Linked DNA regions of Homo sapiens: regions 1, 2, 3 and 5 are each linked to region 4. The links are contacts of gene promoters, found by promoter capture Hi-C in blood cells and fetal thymus (Javierre and others, 2016). All regions are on one chromosome and are shown on one strand. Each heading gives the region's core, a stretch centred on a gene start or on the middle of the fragment in contact. The rest is flanking DNA. Distances are from core to core; before and after follow the strand shown.

Evidence for each region. The method cuts DNA at HindIII sites, captures the fragments that hold promoters and counts their contacts. A CHiCAGO score of 5 or more calls a contact.
Region 1: a contact is called between a fragment that was not itself captured here and the fragment with the promoter of CHRNA1 in region 4, in 2 of 17 cell types (M1 macrophages and naive CD4 T cells). The highest score is 5.8, in M1 macrophages.
Region 2: a contact is called between a fragment that was not itself captured here and the fragment with the promoter of CHRNA1 in region 4, in 1 of 17 cell types (naive CD8 T cells). The highest score is 7.4, in naive CD8 T cells.
Region 3: a fragment that was not itself captured here is called in contact with the fragment with the promoter of CHRNA1 in region 4 in 5 of 17 cell types (naive CD8 T cells, naive CD4 T cells, total CD8 T cells and 2 more); the score reaches 8.0 in naive CD8 T cells.
Region 5: a fragment that was not itself captured here is called in contact with the fragment with the promoter of CHRNA1 in region 4 in 1 of 17 cell types (total CD4 T cells); the score reaches 5.1 in total CD4 T cells.

Annotation. Positions count from the first base shown.
Region 1 is chr2:175,063,779-175,067,458 of GRCh38, reverse strand. No RefSeq gene overlaps it. Among named protein-coding and RNA genes, the nearest start is that of CHN1, 60 kb to the right of the region's middle. RefSeq lists a silencer at 1,770-2,002. The HindIII fragment of the contact is 4,524 bases long and covers 1-3,680 here.
Region 2 is chr2:175,042,924-175,046,781 of GRCh38, reverse strand. No RefSeq gene overlaps it. Among named protein-coding and RNA genes, the nearest start is that of CHN1, 39 kb to the right of the region's middle. The HindIII fragment of the contact is 6,585 bases long and covers 1-3,858 here.
Region 3 is chr2:175,109,420-175,113,301 of GRCh38, reverse strand. It overlaps ATF2 (activating transcription factor 2), which reads left to right. Exons shown (of 14, transcript NM_001880.4): 10 at 1,648-1,734. Among named protein-coding and RNA genes, the nearest start is that of MIR933, 56 kb to the left of the region's middle. The HindIII fragment of the contact is 1,567 bases long and covers 736-2,302 here.
Region 4 is chr2:174,762,790-174,766,513 of GRCh38, reverse strand. It overlaps CHRNA1 (cholinergic receptor nicotinic alpha 1 subunit), which reads left to right and starts at 2,042. Exons shown (of 9, transcript NM_000079.4): 1 at 2,042-2,162. The coding sequence starts at 2,120. RefSeq lists an enhancer at 1,542-2,041. The HindIII fragment of the contact is 3,214 bases long and covers 1-3,052 here.
Region 5 is chr2:175,126,156-175,129,872 of GRCh38, reverse strand. The region is part of intron 4 of ATF2 (activating transcription factor 2); the gene reads left to right. Among named protein-coding and RNA genes, the nearest start is that of MIR933, 40 kb to the left of the region's middle. The HindIII fragment of the contact is 3,977 bases long and covers 1-3,559 here.

The sequences.
Region 1 (3,680 bases), core at 225-2,724, 300 kb before region 4:
ATTCTGTCCATGTGATGCATCACATTGATTGATTTGCATATGTTAAACCATGCTTGCACCCCAGGAATAAATCCCACTTGGTCATGTTGAATGATCTTTTAATACATTACTGAATTTGGTTTGCTATTATTTTGTTGAGGATTTTTGCATCAATATTCATCAGACATATTGGCTGGTAGTTTTCTTTTTATGTTGTATGTGTGTCTAGTTTTGGTATCAGGGTAATACTGGCCTCATAGAATGAGTTTAGAAGTATTTCCTTCTCTATTTTTTGGAATAGTTTGAGTAGGATTGGTATTAGTTCTTCTTTGAACATTTGGTAGAATTCAACAGTGAAGCCATCAGGCCCTGGGCATTTCTTTACTGGGAGACTTTATTACAGCTTCAATCTTTTTACTTGTATATTGATATTTTTATTCAGGTTTAGGAAATTCTCTGTTATCCTGCTGAATAAACTTTCTACCCCTATCTCTGTCTCTACCTCCTCTATAAGGACAATAACTCTTAGATTTGCCCTATTGAGGCTGTTTTCTAGATCCTGTAGGCATTCCTCATTGGTTTTTTATCTTTCTTCTTTTTTCTCCTCTCTGTATTTTCAAATTAAGCTCACTAATTCTTTCTTCTGCTTGATCATTTCTGCTATTAAAAGACTCGTGTTCTTCAGTATGCCAATTGCATTTTTCAGCTCCAGCATTTCTGCTTGTTTCTGTTTAATCATTTTAATCTCTTTGTTAAATGTATCTGATAGAATTCTGAATTCCTTTTCTGTGTTATCTTGAATTTCTTTGCATTTCCTCAAGCATGGCTATTTTGAATTCTCTGAAAGGTCAGAGAATATCTTTGTTTCTCCAGGATTGCTCCCTATTGCCTTTTTTAGTTCATTTGGTGAGGTCATGTTTTCCTGGATGGCGTTGATGCATGTAGATGTTCTTCAGCGTCTGGGCATTTTAGAGTTAGGTATTTATTGTAGACACTCAGTCTGGGCTTGTTTGTCCTTTTTGGGAACACTTTCAAGATATTTGAAAGGACTCGAGTGTTGTGATCTAAGCTGTACCTGTTTTAGGGGGCACCCCAAGCCCAGTAATGCTGTGGTTCTTGCAGACTTGTAGAGGTACTGCCTTAATGCTCTTGGATGAGATCCAGAAGACCTCTCTGGATTACCAGGTGGAGACTGTTGTTTTCTTAATTTTTCCTACGTGAACGGAGTCATTCTCTCTGTTCTGAGCCATATGGAACTGGGGGTGGTGTGACACAAGCACTCCTGTGGCCACAAACACTAGGACTGCACTGGGTCAGATCTGAATCTAGCACAGCACCAGGTCTCACCCAACCTTTCTATAACCTCTCATTGGCTATGACCTATGTTTGCTCAAGGCCCTGGAGCTCTAAAATCAGCAGGTGGCAAAGCTATTCAGGCCTCTGTCCTTCTCTTCAGGGTAGCAAGTTAGTTCACCCAGGCCCTGGGCTTGTCCAGAGGTGCCATCCAGGAGCCAGGGACTGGAGTCAAAACTGTTAGAAGTCTACCTGCCAAGACTGGTGTTCTATTGTATTGTGGCTCAACTGGCACTCAAACCATAAGACACAGTCCTTCACACTCTTCCCTACCCATTCCAAAGGCAAAAGAGCCTCACCAAGTGGCCATTGCCACCACAGGCCCACAGGGAGTACCTCAAGACTGCCACCAATGTTCCCTTAAGGGCCAAGGGCTCTTAGGTGAGATTGTGATGAATGCTGCCTTCCCTGGGACTCACCCTTCAGGGCAGTGGGCTCCCCTCTGGCTGAGGCAGGTCCAGAAATGCCATCCAAGAGCCACGTCCTGGAATTGGGGACCCCAAGACCCTACTTGGTGCTCTACCCCACTATGGCTGAGCTGGTATCTAAGGTGGAAGACAAACCCCCCCTTTGCTTTTCCATCCACTTTCTCAAGTGGAAGGAATCTCACCCCATAACCCCATAGCCACCACAGCTGGGAATGTGCTGTACTTGCCTGAAGCCAGCAAGTTTCAAGAGGCTCACTGAAGGCCCTCAACATAGTACCTGAGTATCGCTGCTGGTTATTCAGGGCCCAAAGGCTCTTCAGTTAGTAGGATTCTGCCAGGACTGGGTCCTTCCTTTCATGGAAGCATGTTCCCTTCTGGTCCAGAGTATGTCTAGAAATGTATCTGGGGGCTAGGGCCTGGAAACGGGGCCTCATGATTCTGACCAATACCCTATCTAGCTGTAGCTGAGCTGGGATCCAAGACGCAAGGCAAAGTCTTACCCACTCTTCCCTCTCCTCTCCTTAAGTGGAGGAAATGGGGTTGTTTTGGAGCTTTGAGCAACCTGGGGTTAGGGAAGGGATGATGCCAGCACTCACACAGTCACCCTGGCTGTGTCTCAGTAGGTTGTGTTCCCTGCTGTTCATTGTCTCTGGGCCCAGTTCAGCACTAAGATTGGCCTAGGAGTTGCATTCCTTGTGGCCTAGACTGCCTTTCAAGTGTTATCTGGAGCCCCAGAGCACTTCACTCTGCGGTGGTGAGGCTTTTGGGAACTTAAGTTCAGGCCACTGGGATCGGCGATTCCTCTGGCTAGGGCTGCTTTCAATGCTCCCTTCGTGGGCGGGCATCAGCTGAGTTTGGGTCAGTTTTGTTTTCTAATTTTTGGTTTTTATGAAGGTGTTTTATTTTGTGTGTGTGTAGACAGTTGTTAAATTGGTGCCCTTGCTGTGGGGATAATCAGTGGAGATTTCTAGTCTGCCATCTTGCCCTGCCCCTACTCCCCAAATTTTTAATGTTATTTATTTAGCAGAATTTAAGATGGTAGCATTGTCTATTAGGAGTTTCTCATGAAGCAAATACATTATATGATGTTTATGAGGAAATGAGAAAATTTGTGAATGCCATTATCTTTTTTCTTTTGTGACAGAGTCTCACTCCTTTACCCAGGCTGGACATGATCTCAGCTCACTGCAACCTCCACCTCCCGGGTTCAAGCAATACTCCTGCCTTAGCCTCCTGAGTAGCTGGGATTACAGGCGTGCACCACCATACCTGGCTAATTTTTGTATTTTTAGTAGAGATGGGGTTTCACTATGTTGGCCAGGCTGGTCTCGAACTCCTGACCTCAAGTGATAAAATGCTGGGATTACAGGCTTGAACCACCACTCCCGGCCAATGCCATTATCTTAAACCAACTTTGCATTATCGTTAATACTGTATTACCTATTTTACTGAATGATTTTTTTCTACTAGTTTTTTATCTCTATGTAATTTAAACATGTGGCTAGTTCCTAGGTCCATTTTTAGGAGGTATGCTTATTAAAATTCATTTTCATAGTGTCTAATTAAATAACATCAATTTGAATAAAGTGAGTTAGATAATATAACTATTCTATTGTAATTAATTAGGACATTTAAAAAATAATTCAACAGATAAACATTGACTTCCTCCCATGGCTAAATTATTAGGGAAATACCTTCTACATTACATCTTAAATTATTCAGCTCAGGTGGTGGTTTCTGAGAGCACTTTCAACACCATGAGGTAATATGCTGAATCATAAACAACCACGTCAGCCGCCTACATTAACATACTGCAAACAAGACTCTTCAGATCTTTTTTATGGCATTTAAGTCCAATTCAAATAAAACTTCAATTCTTTATGGACTGGAGTATATCTGTGACAAAGAAACATCAGATAA
Region 2 (3,858 bases), core at 392-2,891, 280 kb before region 4:
AAAACCAACCAATATTAAATTACGGAGAAATAGACAATCTAAATACACCAATAATGAGTAAGGAGATTGAATCAGTAATAAAAAGCCTCCCATCAAAGAAAAGCCCAGGACCTAGTGGCTTCACTGCTGAATTCTACCAAACATTTAAAGAAGAACTAATACCATTTCTTCAAACTATTCCAGAAAATGGGAGAGGAGGAGAACTCATTTTACAAGGCCAACATTACTCTAATTACCCTGTTTCCAAAACTAGACCAGGACATAACAAAATAAAAAACTATGGACCAATATCCCTGATGAACACTGACATAAAAATTTTCAACAAGTTATTAGCAAACCAAATCCACAGCACATTAAAAAGATTATTCACAGCCAGGCGCAGTGGCTCATGCCTGTAATCCCAGCACTTTGGGAGGCCGAGGCAGGCATATCACTTGAGGCCAGTAGTTTGAGACAAGCCTGGCCAACATGGCAAAACCCCATCTCTAGTAAAAATACCAACATTAGCCGAGCATGGTGACATGCACCTGTAGTCCCAGCTATTCGGGAGGCCGAGGCGGGAGAATCACTTGAACCCACGAAGGGAAGGTTGTGGTGAGCCGAGATTGCACCACTGCACTCCAGCCTGGGTGAAAGAGTGAGACTCCATCTCAAAAAAAAACAAAAAACAAAAAACAAAAAAAAGACAAATGGGATTACATCAAACTATAAAGATTTTGCACAGCAAAGGGAGATATTAACACAGTGAAGGGACAGGCCAAGTGTGGTGGCTCATGCCTGTAATCCCAGCACTTTGGGAGGCCACAGTGGGCAGATTGCTTGAGCTCAATTGTTCAAGACCAGCTTGGGCACAAGGCAAAACCCCATCTCTACTAAAAATACAAAAACTAGCTGGGTGTGGTGGCATGCACCTGTAGTTTCAGCTACTCAGGAGGCTGAAGTGGGAGGATCACCTGAGCCCATGAGGTTGAGTGAACTGTGTTCGCACAACTGCACTAATAATCAGGGAAATGTATTAATAAATAAAATCCACAATTAGATACCACCTCACCCCAGTTAGAATGGCTATTATCAAAAAGACAAAACAAGTATTGGCAAAGATATGGAAAAAAGGGAACACATACACATTATTTATGGGATTGTAAACTAGTATAGCCATTATAAAAAACAGTATGGGGGTTCCTCAAAAATTTAGAAATAGAATGACCATGTGATTCAGCAATCCCACTACTGGGTATATATCCAAAGGAAATGAAACCAGTATGTCGAAGAGATAGCTCCACTGCCATGCTTGTTGCAGCACTATTCACAATAGTCAAGACATAGAATCAACCTAACTGTCCATTGATGAATGGATAAAGAAAATGTGATATGACAATACTAGTCAGTCATAAAAAAGAGTGAAATACTGTTATTTATGACAACATGAATGAACCAGGACACAATGTTAAATGAAATAAACCAGACATAGAAAGATAAATACTGTGTGATCTCACTCACGTGGAATCTAAAACAAAAAAATTGATATTATAGAAACAGAGAGTAGAACAGTGGTTACCAGAGATGGGAGGAGAGAAAGGAGGAGGGGAGGGGAGGAAGAAGAAGAGGGAAATTTGTAGCACTAAATGCCTACATCAGAAACCTAGAAAAATCTCAAAATACCACCCTAATGTCACAATTAAAAGAGCTAGAGAGGCAAGAACGAACTAATCCAAAAGCTAGCAGAAGACAAGAAATAACTAAGATCCGAGAAGAACTGAAGGAGATAGAGACATGAAATACTTTCCAAAAGGTTAATGAATCCAGGAGCTGGTTTTTTGAAAAAATCAACAAAATTGATGAACCACTAGCTAGACTAATAAAAAAAGAAGAATCAAATAGACACAATGAAAAATGATAAAGGAGATATAACCACTGACCCCACAGAAATATAAACTACCATCAGAGAATACTATAAACACCTCTGTGCAAATAAATTAGAAAATCTAGAAGATATGGATAAATTTCTGGACACATACACACTCCCAAGACTAAACCAGGAAGAAGTTGAATGCTGAATAGACCAATAACAAGTTCTGAAATTGAGGCAGTAATTAATAACCTACCAACCAAAAAAAAGTCCAGGACCAGACTGATTCATGGTTGAATTCTACCATAAATACAAAGAGGAGCTGGTACCATTCCTTCTGAAACCATTCCAAACAACTGAAAAGGAGGGACTCCTCTGTAACTCATTTTATAAAGCCAGCATCATCCTGATACAAAACCTGGCAGAGGCACAACAAAAAAAAGGAAAACTTCAGGCCAAAATAGCTGATGAACAGCGATTCAGAAATCCTTAATAACATACTGGCAAACTGAATCCAGTAGCATATCAAAAAATGTATCCGCCACAGTCAGGTTGGCTTCATCCCTGGGATGCAAGGCTGGTTCAACATATGCAAATCAATAAATGTAATTATCACATAAACAGAACCAAAGATACAAACCACTTGATTATCTCAATAGATGCAGAAAAGGTCTTTGATAAAATTCAACATCGCTTCATGTTAAAAACGCTCAATAAACTAGATGGAACATATCTCAAAATAATAAGATATTTATGACAAACCCACAGCCAATATCATATTGAATGGGTAAAAGCTGGAAGCATTCCCTTTGAAAACTGGTACAAGACAAGGATGCCCTCTCTTACCACTCCTATTCAACGTAGTATTGGAAGCGCTGGCCTGGGCAATCAGGCAAGAGAACAACATAAAGAGTATTCAAATAGGAAAAGAGGAAGTTAAGTTGTCTCTGTTTGCAGATGACATGATTTTATATTTAGAAAACCCCATCATCTCAGCCCCAAAACTCCTTGAACTGACAAGCAACTTCAGCAAAGTCTCAGGATACAAAATCAATGTGCAAAAATCACAAGCATTCCTTTACACCAACAATAGGCAAGCAGAGAGCCAAATCATGAATGAACTTCCATTCACAATCGCTACAAAGAGAATAAAATACCTAGGAATACAGCTAACAAGGGATGTGAAGGACCTCTTCAAGGAGAACTACAAACCACTGATCAAGGAAATAAGAGAGAACACAAACAAATGGAAAAAGATTCCATCCTCATGGATAGGAAGAATCAATATCATGAAAACGACCATATTGCCCAAGGTAATTTATGGATTCAATGCCATTTCCATCAAACCATTGACATTCTTCGCAGAATTAAAAAAAAACTATTTTAAATTTTATATGGAATCAAAGAAGACCCCATATAGCCAAGACAATCCTAAGCAAAAAGAACAAAGCTGGGGGCATCACACTATCTGACTTCAAACTATACTACAGGACAACAGTAACCAAACCAGGATGGTACTGGTACCAAAACAGATATGTAGACCAACAGAGCAGAACAGAGACTTCAGAAGTAACACCACACATCTACAACCATCTGATCTTCAACAAACCTTACAAAAACAAGCAATGGGGAAAGGATCTCCTATTCAGTATATGATACTGGGAAAACTGGCTAACCATATGCAGAAAACTGAAACTGGACCCCTTCCTTACACCTTATGCAAAAATTAACTCAAGATGGATTAAAGGTTTAAATGTAAAACCCAAAACCGTAAAAATCCTAGAAAAAAATCCTAGGCAATACCATTCAGGACATAGGCATGGGCAAAGCCTTCATGACAAAAACGCCAAAAGCAACTGCAACAAAAGCCAAAATTGACAAATGGGATCCAATTAAACTAAAGAGCTTCTGCACAGCAAAAAAAGCTATCATCAGAGTGAACAGGCAACCTACAGAATGGGAGAAAATTTTTGCAATCTACCAATCTGACAAAGGTCTAATATCCAGAA
Region 3 (3,882 bases), core at 270-2,769, 350 kb before region 4:
GGGCAAGACCCCAAGTCAAAAAAAAAAAAAAAGTAATAGTTTAATGAACATTTAAAAACACATTGTTTGGAATAATGTGTGTTAGAAAATTGCTTTTTTCTTACTTACATTACATAAAACAGTTTTATTCAAACAAACTCTTCAGTTATGTCTTTGACATTCAAATTTTCATCCTGAGAACCACTTTTTGAGACATCTAGCACAGTTTCCAGAACACAGTATTTTCTTTTTCATCTAAATCATTTACGATATTACTTTATGAATCTCTCTATTATTCTCTCCCTGGAAATCTTACACCAAGCATTAGGTACTTATTTATGTAATAAAAAGATAGTTTTTTCTTTTACCTTCTAAGATGCTTGTTACTGATCAGTACAGTGTAATCATTTACAGTGTAGCTTTTAAAAATTATTTTTAGGCCAAGTGCAGTGGCTCATGCCTGTAATCCCAGCACTTTGGGAGACCAGGGTGGGTGGCTTGCCTAAGTCCAGGAGTTCAAGACCAGGCTGGGCAACATGGCAAAACCCCATCTCTACAAAAAATAAACACAAATTAGCCAGTTGTGATGGAAGCACCTGTAGTCTCAGCTACTCAGAAGGCTGAGGTGGGAGGATCACTTGAGCCTGGAGGTTGAGACTGTAGTTAGCCGAGATTGCACCACTGCATTCCAGGCTGGGCAACAAAGTAAGACCTTGTCTCAAAAATAATAAAAAATAAAACTTATTTTTAAAAGCTTACTTATAGTAACATTCCAACACTTTCGGTGAGATTACCCCCAAGAATATTACTAGGATTAATGTTTGATATTTATATCTTTTTTTAATTAACTAATTCTTCCACGTGATCTTTCAAACTATCCAAAATTAGCATTGATTGACGTAATTTCAAGATAATGTGCCTTCTTTAAAAAGAACTTTGTTCAAAATGCATTATTTGAGAGACTTTGTAAGGACTCAGATATAAGGTATCTGCTTCCTCTTTACTGAGAATATTTTTTTGAGGAGGGAAACATTCTTGCCTTGTTTTTGAGATTCTGATTATCCTGTTACATGTACCTAGTGATGAAAGCAACCGGAAATGAAAGAAAAGATATGCTTTATTTATACAGTAACTGTGTTCACTCAGTGTTAGGTTTAAGAAAAAAAAGGAAAAAACCAAAATGGTAAAACCTGTTACAGATTATTTCAGAAATTATTACAGTGTGTTATTTGTTATTATGTGGTATGTATAAGAAAATTCATTGTATATATTTTTAGAAAAGCAAAATTCATTGTTGAAATTATTTTTTATGCCTAAGTGTCACAAGTTTTGACATTCTTCCTTTCATATTCAAAATGGAAGTTTGACAGATCTTTGAGAATTTTTGCATTAATCACTTTGAATATTATGAATTTCTAACAGGGACCATTAAGAAAGAAATTGTAGAAACTGAAAATTAGGAAAGCACACGTCTCAGAAATTGACAACTTTTGAAGGATAAGTCAGGATATAAGACCAAATAAGGATTTGGTATAGAGATAAAATCAGCTGGTGATAAATTTACAATGTTCTGATTCTTAAAGTCTCAAATTATTACAACAGCAGTAAAGTACAAATCTCATTTTGAATATATTCTCTAGCAATTATTTTTCCTTATGTCATGCATAGCTCGTTCGACCAGTCACCATGGTGCCTAGTGTTCCAGGAATCCCAGGTCCTTCCTCTCCCCAACCAGTACAGTCAGAAGCAAAAATGGTAAGCCAGATTTTATTTGTTCTGTACATTGCTTGAGGCTGTTTTGAATTAATGTTTTCACTAAAGCCTGCTTCAAATGCACAATTTAGATCACATTTTTATAAAGTTACGGACTGTTTTATACTATAGATAAACCACAAAATTTGAAAAAAGAAATCTTCCTTTAGCATAGTGAGTAGTTAGTGATACTTTAAAATTAGTGGCAGATTAGAAGTTCTGTTTCTTGTCACTTGTTGTTTGTCTGGCTTTTTCTTGTGGCTTTTTCTCCTCCTAGTGGAAAATAGGAGTATTACATCTGAAACTAGATGTGATCATCTGAAGGCAGTGCTGCTAATAATGATGAGTGGTTTTAACAGTATTAAAAAGAATTCTGAAATAGTGTACAAGTTAGCAAACATGATAAAACCATTTTTTTCTGTTGTGCTGTTTGGATGCTATTAAATTAATGTTTAGATGTGTATTTTAATTTTAATTTTAATCCTAACTCCACTATTCACTACCTTTAATTAAGCAACTGTAACTTTCCTGAGATTGCATTTCCTCATCTGTAAAATAAAAAGATTAAGCTTTGGTTTCTGGGGTACTTCTTAACCCTAAATCCTATAAACGTTCTAATTTTCTTAGTAGAAGATCTGACGATTCTATTTTTAAAGAAAATCAGGGCCGGGCGCAGTGGCTCACACCTGTAATCCCAAGCACTTTGGGAGGCTGAGGTGAGCAGATCACCTAAGGTCAGGAGTTCGAGAGCAACCTGGCCAACATGGTGAAACCCCATCTCTACTAAAAATACAAAAATTAGCCGAGCGTGGTGGTGCATGCCTGTAATCCTAGCTACTCGGGTGGCTGAGGCACAAGAATTTGCTTGAACCCGGGAGGCCGAGGTTGCAGTGAGCCAGCATCGCACTATTGCACTCCAGCCTGGGTGACAGAGTGAAACTCCATCTCAAAAATAAAATAAAATAAAATAAAAATCAGTGTAATTCTCCTTGCTGTGTTATAATACAATAATGTCAGTTAATTAATAACATCGATTAATTGGGTAGATGTTAACGTTCTATATCATAATAGGGCTAACAACAGCAATTAATTAATGTATCCTTAGGAAATCAATAGATTAGTAGTTATTAGACACCTTCTATTTGCTTCAGTTATTTGCTAGGCACTATACTAAATACAAATTTTTACATGCTAAAACATATTGCAGAGCTGAATTTATTTATTTATTTATTTTTTGAGATGGAGTCTCGCTCTCTCACCCAGGCTGGAGTACAGTGGCACAATCTCAGCTCACTGCAACCTCCGCCTCCTGGGTTCAAGCAATTCTCCTGCCTCAGCCTCCTGAGTAGCTGGGATTACAGGTGTGCACCACCATGCCTGGCTAATTTTTGTATTTTTAGTAGAGACGGGTTTTCACCATGTTGGTCAGACTGGTCTCGAACTCCTGACCTCGTGATCCCCCCTCCCCAGCCTCCCAAAGTGTTGGGATTACAGGCGTGAGCCACCACACCCGGCCTGAAAAATTTTTACTGCTATTCTCCATTAGTGCAGACAATCAGTCAGAAATTTGCACAGGACACCCTGTTTTAGCAATAAAACTTACATATTATCTGAATGAACAGCAGTTGGTTGAAGAGTATAAAAATTAGGTGGTTATTGATTGTTAGAGAAGACCCTAAAAACCCAAGGAGGAAATTTTTCACATCATAGTATGTTCAGGTCAGAGCTTTGGAAATACTAAGATGAATCTTCTTCACTTGATAGCAGAAGAGCTTCACCAGGGGCATTTTTTGCACTTCCTATTTTAGTATACTGATTGATGAAAAATTCAATTTAATTTACCATGCAGTGGGAACTGAATAGAGCAGATATAGATATTAAAAGGAGATCCTGTTATTGTGTACTGCATCTAAAAGTATTTTTACATATTCATTGGACTTTTTTCTATAAATTAATTCAAAAGGAACAAATCCAGTTTTAAGAAATACCTTTATTTACAAGAGTAGGCCATATTTTTAGAAACTGTTAAACTTTACACTTAACCTGAATAACTGTTTCTTTTAGGTCATCAGGAAATTAAATTAAAAAGAATAAAAGTTTCTCTCTTTCCGATCAGTCCACTCCATCTATTCTGATGTTTGTAACCATAGA
Region 4 (3,724 bases), core at 793-3,292:
GAAGAAAGCACCCTTAAAGTGATCTTTGCTGTGGTGATGAAACTGCCTGTTTAAAGAGAAGTCTTAACGGGCTTTGGTTGCTCAAAGCCTTTATTCCATGTTTTCACTTACTCTTTTGAAGTTCAAAACAGAAGACTCCACATTTCTGGACTCATTCTATTTCTTTTCATTTCTGCTCTTGAACCAGCACATTTTTGCCTGAGCTCAGCTCTTCCTTGTACTGACTTGCTAAACAAAGCCAGAAAGAGCCATGGTGCACTAACTTTGGGTTTACCAGCCTCTATTCTGGGAGCTACAGGCTCAGTAGACACATTGTTCACCAAGTAATTGAGGACAACAGTTTATGAAATGATTTGATACCATATAACATGGGTCTTCATATTTTCAGCCTCCAGTATCAATTTTCTTGCCTTCTGCTGCAGTGCTACATATTTTAGAATTTATTTTTAACCTCAGGATACTAGTGCAAAGGATTACATATTTTATTAATTACGGAACACTAGCTGCTGTACAAATAAACCCAAGGATTTTGATGGCTCAGCACGATGCATGTTTTGTTTTCATTGAAATAGTGCTGGGTGGTGAGCAGGTGGATAGGGGGTCCCCCTCCATGCAGTCATTCAAGGATTCAGAATGTCAAAAGCAACACCACCTTCAGAACATGGTTTCTAAGGTTAACTTTGGGACCATGTCCATTCTAGCCGGTCAGAAGACTAGAAGGGCGGGGCTGAGCTCTGGTAGGTTTGTGAGTCTGAGAACATTTTTCCACTCATGCCACTGGCCAGAGGTCAGTCCCATGGCTCCATTTAGATGGAAGGGGCTGGTCAGAGGGTGGGGGTTGTATTTCTGCCACGGGGCTATTCCATGGAAGGGAGAGAACCAAATTTTTTTTTAGCAAACAGTTAACTGATCTCCCACAGTTTAAACAAAAAATATAAATAGTATGAGCTTGCAGCTCTCTCCTCTACCCTCCAAGCCCCTTCTCTAATGATTTGTTTGGATCCACTGGAATGAGAGGATCTGTCAGGATGTTGTTGTGGGCTTGAGGTGAGAGGACCTTTCTCACCTAGTTCCATGTGGGAAGGAGGCCTGGAAGGAACAGGCAGGGTACCTTTAAGTAACTGTCTCCTTCTGGGAACTCACCTCACACCCTGCAAAGAAGCACAGCTAGGGTAACAATACTTCTCAGACTGAGAAATTACTAACTGCTGGTTTTTAGGATGTTTTTCAAGCAAGATAATTGAAAAGCTGAACCACTCTGCTCTTTGCTTCCCTGAGTGAGAGTAGGCAGAGGGACGGATGGAAGGAGGCAGGAACCCGGAACGACTGCTGATGCGGTGGGACACTTTTTCCCAATAATTACTCTTCGCTTGAATCACAGTGCATAGGACGTGGGCAATTTGCTCCAGCTAATGGTTCGTGTGGGATAGGTATTGCCTGATACAGAGGCAGGGGTTGGAACAGCCACTCTGGGGGCCAGTAAAGCCAGTTTTATGGAAGAAGCTGTCTTTGTTAAAAACCAAACCCAATCAACGTGGGGGCTTCCCAGCAGCAGACTCAACACCAGCTACACTTTTCTGAAATCCAGGCAGTCAGAAAAGCCCCCGGCACCCTCAGCCTAACACTGAAGCAGAGGAAATGAAACTGAAGCCATGTTTGCAGAATGTGGATTTTTGTGGTTTAGGACAAACAGCTGACTATCTACTCAGACCAAATGACCCTAATCAAGTCAACCCACAGAGATGAGGTTCTGGTTTACACAAAAGAGAGGCAGTTTGCTCACCATTTAAAATAATTCCTTCCTTCCTATACATTTTTTTTTCATTAAGATCTGACTACTGGTGCATTTAAAATATAATGCAGTTCATACTCAGCTTGTCAAGGGTAAGCAATTGTGTAAAGTGAGGCATATCTGTAATGGTGTACAGTCCCAGTAACTCCCTGGGCTCCAGGGCTGAGGGCAGCCCAGCTGTCGCTCCCACAAACAGGTGGTGTAAAACAATAGCTCTAGTGAGCCGACTCGCTTTCCAAACCCTCCAGCAGACAAGCACCCAGCCAGAGTGCCAGTGAGAAGCACAGGCCACCACTCTGCCCTGGTCCACACAAGCTCCGGTAGCCCATGGAGCCCTGGCCTCTCCTCCTGCTCTTTAGCCTTTGCTCAGGTAAGTGCTGGGGTCAGGGGTGGGGAGAGGGCTCTCCTTTGAGGCTAAAGTGCTGGAGGCCCCCAAATCAAAGTCTTGCTTCTTTGATGAGACCACAGAATGGCAGAGCCTCCCCAACCAGGGGCTGCTCTGTCAGTTTCTTCCTGATGTTAGCTTGATTGAGTTTTTGGATAAAGATTTTTAGTTTGCCTTATCTAATTAAAATAGAAACTGCCTGGTCAAAGACTTCAAGATAGACACGCATGTCTCTCCCTCCATCATGCCTGGCAGCCGACTCATCCCTCTGAACACTCGGCACCATTTGTAGGACCTGGACCACTTGTGGATCATGGTAGTGTCCGGGGGTTCATATTTAAACAACTATGGATACTTAGAACAGTGCCTTATAATCACATACAATGGAGTTAACAAGTCCCTTTACTGCTCCAGGAGAATTCTAATAATAAAGAGGACTGATTGACAGCTACATGTGCTGGAGATAGAAACCAGTTAATAATCATAACTAAACTCTCTCCACAGAGACAAATATTTTTTAATTTTTTCAAAATTTCTGAAGTTAAAAAAAATTCCATATGAATACATTCCTACCTACTTTTTTTTTTTAAGATGTTACTATATATAGGTTTGGGTTTGAATTGAAACTATAAAACCTTGCACAGCATTTGACCTGCATTCTACTCTGGAATGTGTCCTAACACAGCAGCTGAAACACCATCCTGAATCCCAGACTTCCGCTAGAGGGAAACAGGAGATGTTTGCTGATTGCTTCACATAAAAGTTTACTGGTGATATCATCCCAACTGAGAAACAAGGTGGCTGACATCCTGTGATTTTTCATTTCCAATATTGCTCTGAAAAACACAGGCCTTCTGGTCAAGAGGCAAAAAGCTTTATTATTAATTTTTTTCAATATCAGAGTTGAGTGAAAGAGCCTAAACTCAGATAAATTATATCATGTGGGATTTGGACTCTGTCCAGCCAAAGCTGGCCTGATGTGTGTGTGTGTGTGTGTGTGTGTGTGCGCGCGCGTGCACACACATGCGTGCACGCAAAACCACAGTCACAGGAAAATTCTTAAATGATATGCTTTAATGTAAACATCCTTAAGAGATCTCTTAGGATTTTGGTTATTGCTAACCAAAAATGCATGATTAGCTATTAAAGAAGTATGTGATATGTATTTAGGTCAAATCTCGAGTTTGCTGGCATTGATTTCCATGGGTGTTTTATAGAAATTTAGAGCTAGATCAGGCAGTCCAACATCCTCAATTTTTTATTACAAGGAAACTAAAGCTGACCTGCCCAAGGTCACTTAATTTATACATTTTGGAATGTGGTCAGTTGGAGACTTGGTTTATTACATGCACAGTCAGAAAACACAGCCTGAACTAGCCAAAGGTAGCAAGAGATACAGAATCAGGTTAAGATAATAATGATCCATGGGACTAGTAACAGTTCAAAATTTCTTTTGCCCAGCCCAGGGAGCTATTTCCTACATACAAATACAAATGGAACCAGTGTGGTACAAAAGGAACACTTTGAAACTGTGGTTGAGTTTCCCT
Region 5 (3,717 bases), core at 322-2,821, 360 kb before region 4:
GATATAAAAGTATAATTTGACTGTTATTGGTTGAAAATTATTGATAAACTGCCTAATTAGAAATCAGATCGATATTATATGAGAATTATTTTGCTTACTGAACTTTTATGAAATTAACTGGTATTTACTTCTTAGAGTATCACTAATGTATTAATGTTGTTAAGCCTAACGTCTTTAATATTGGGCATGTGGCAGCAGTTTCAGAAAGTAATATTTTAGTTTTTTTTTAACAACCCACTAAATTATTAATCTATTCCTATTATACTTATCTTAAAATAACTATAGACAGGAAGAATTAAAGAATAAATGTAATGTATAGCAAAGTTACAAAGTACTTAAATATACGGACCATAAATGTAAGTAAGCATTATTCTTTCTCATTTATTTTCTTTAGTTGATATTTTAAATTGAAATATAATTGACTTACAATAAACTGTATATACTTAAAATGTACCATTTGATAAGTTTTAACACACGTATACTCAAAACCATCAGCACAATCAGGATAGTAAACATACAATCACCCAAAAGTTTCCTCATGCCTATTTATAATTCCTCTTATCCCACCTACCTTCATCAATTACTGGTCTGCCTTCTGTTACTGTAGATTTGTTTGCATTTTCCAGAATTTTGTATAAATGGAATCATATAGTATGTATGTTTTTTCACTCCACATAATTCAATATTTCTCCATGTTATGTTACCAATAGTTAATTCCTTTTCATTGAGATATAATATTTCATTATCTCACAATTTATCTGTTCATCTGATGGATATTGGTTTACTTCTATTTTTTAGTTGTTAATAAAGCTGATGTGAATACTTGTGTACAAGTCTTTTTATGGACACATGCTTTCATTTCTCTTGGAGGAATACATGGGAGTATAATGATGGGATTATCTGATAGATATATGTTTGACTTTTTAGGAAATTACCAGGCTGCTTTTTTCATGTGTTTGTTGGCCATTTGTATCCCTTACATTTTGTGAAGTATCTTTTTAAATCTTTTGCTCATTTTAAAAAATTGGGTTGTCTTTTTATTATTGAGTTGTAGGAGTTCTTTATATATCCTGGATACCAGTCCTTGTCAGAGGCTTCTTTTTCTGTGGTTTGCATCTTAATTTTCGTAATAATATCTTTTGATGAGCAGATGTTTCTAATTTTAATGAATCCTAATGTATTAATTTTTTTCCTCTTATGGTTGTTGCTTTCTGTGACTTGTCAGAAATTTTTGCTTGCCTTTAGATTATGAAGGTATTCTCCTTTGTTTTCCTCTAAAACTTACTGTTTCATTTAGATTTCTCTTTAATCTTGAATTAATTTTTGTGTATGGTGTGAGATAGGGGTTGAAGCTAACTTTTTTTTTTTTTTTGAGACGGAATTTCGCTCTTGTTGCCTAGGCAGGAGTGCAATGGCACAATCTCGGCTCACCACAATCTCCGCCTCCCAGGTTAAAGTGATTCTCCTGCCTTAGCCTCCCAAGTAGCTTGGATTACAGGCATGCGCCACCACACCTGGCTAATTTTGTATTTTTAGTAGAGATGGGGTTTCTTCATGTTGGTCAGGCTGGTCTTGAACTCCTGATCTCAGGTGATCCGCCTGCCTCGGCCTCCCAAAGTGCTGAGATGATAGGCGTGAGCCACCGCGCCCAGCCAGTTGAAGCTAAGTTTTTAAAAAATACGGGTTTAGATATCCCAGCATAATTTCCTGAAAAGATTTTTCTTTCCTCATTAAACTGCTTTGGCTCCTTTAATGAAAATCAAATGATTGTGTAAGTGTGGGTCTGTTTCTGGGCATTATATTCTGTTCCATTCATCACTCTGTCAACTTTTATGCTAGTACCACACCATTTTGATTACTCTAGCTTTACAGTTAGTGTTCCAGTCAGTTAGGGTAAATTCTCCAATTTAGTCCTCATTTTTCAAGATATTTTTGGTTAGTCTCTTAAGTTTTAGTCATTCTGGTGAGGGTTTAATGGTATCTCATTGTAATTTTGATTTATGTGATATTTAATGATGTAGAGCGAGGTAAACATAGGAGTTATCAGGGTTAATGCAATTTTAGATAGGTTAACCAGGGAATGTGCCTCTGCTAAGGTGACATTTGAACAAAGACCTGAAGAAAATGCAGGAGCAAACCTTGTATGTTTCTAGACTAAAGGAGCAGCAAATGTAAAAGCTCTAGGGAGGGAATGTGTATGGTGTGTTTAAGAACAGAAACGCAACTACTGTGGCTGGAGCATATAATGACCAACAGAGAGAAGGTTAAGAGAGGAGGTCAGAGGAGACAGAAAAAAAGACATATCCTATGATAAGGTGTTTGGGTTTTATTCACTGAGCAGTGAAAAGCCACTGCTGAGTGGTCACAGGGAGACAAGAGGCTGACAGCAGTCCAGGTGAGAGATGATGGTGGTTTGAATTAGGTGTTAACAGTGGACACAGAGAGAGAAATAGGCTAATTTGACATATGTTTTGGAGATATATTTGACATATATATTTTTCTGTAAAGTTAAGAGAGCTAAAAACTACAGTTCTCTTTGCACCTAGAATTCTGCATATGATTTTAGGTTTCACCAACCAAATTTACTCTTTCTGGTAAATCAGATTTACTTTAACTTTTTTTTTTTTTTTTCTCGAGACAGGGTCTCACTCTGTCACCCGGGCTGGAGTGCAGTAGCATGATCATGACACACTGAAGCCTCAACCTCCTGGGCTCAGGTGATCCTCCCACCTCAGCCTCCAGAGTAGCTGGGACCACAGGTGCTCACCACCACACCTGACTAATTTTTTGCTTGGTTTTTTTTTTTGGATACAGGATCTCTCAATGTTGTCCAGGCTGTTCTCAAACTCCTGGGCTCAAGCCATCTGCCTACCTTGGCCTCCCAGTGTGCTGAGATTGTAGACATGAGCCACTTCGCCTGACCCACTTTACTTTTTGGATTTGGTACTGAGTTAAATGGAATGAGAGATAGTATTACTCAAATCATCCATTTTGCTGGCTTGGAGTGAACAAACAACTTGATTCTGTAATCCCTGAAGTACAGCTAATGCAATATGTGTTTCTAGGGCCAGCCTTTGGACAAAGACTAGTTTTGACATGTTCTAGATATCATTCTTGGAGACTCAAAAAAGCCCTTTCCTGATTCTCTTCTGCTTAAAATAGTTAGAATGGGTTTTGTGATTGAATTCTTACTAATACACATGCCATTTTAAATAAAAGCATTACAATTAAACAGAAGAAAAACTGATTGCTGAACATTAGAATTTGTGTGTGTATGTGTATCATAAGGAATTGTTAAAAGACCTCTGTAACATTAACTATATATGTGAAAAACATTAAGAAGTTAGGGAATTATTTTTTTAGGTTTCCTACTATTAAAGGAGTTAACATGCATACTTTCTACCTCCACTTCCCTATCCCCTAATGTCTGATAATTACTCTTATTTTTTCCATTGTCGAGGTTTGTAATACTTACATTTTGTCTTATCCATAATTCCCATATTTGCTTAGTTTTACTTCTGTATCACAATAGTATAGATGGAAGGGTGAAAGCTAAGCTTTAGGGCACCTCTGGTGTTTAAAAGTCAGAAAGAGGAGGAGAATGTAGCACAGAAGATTAAGAAGTAGCAACCAGTGAGGAAAATTGAATCTTGAAAGTTAGAAAAAATATTTCAAAGTAAGAGAAACAATATAGTCATATCCTAAATAGGATAAGAT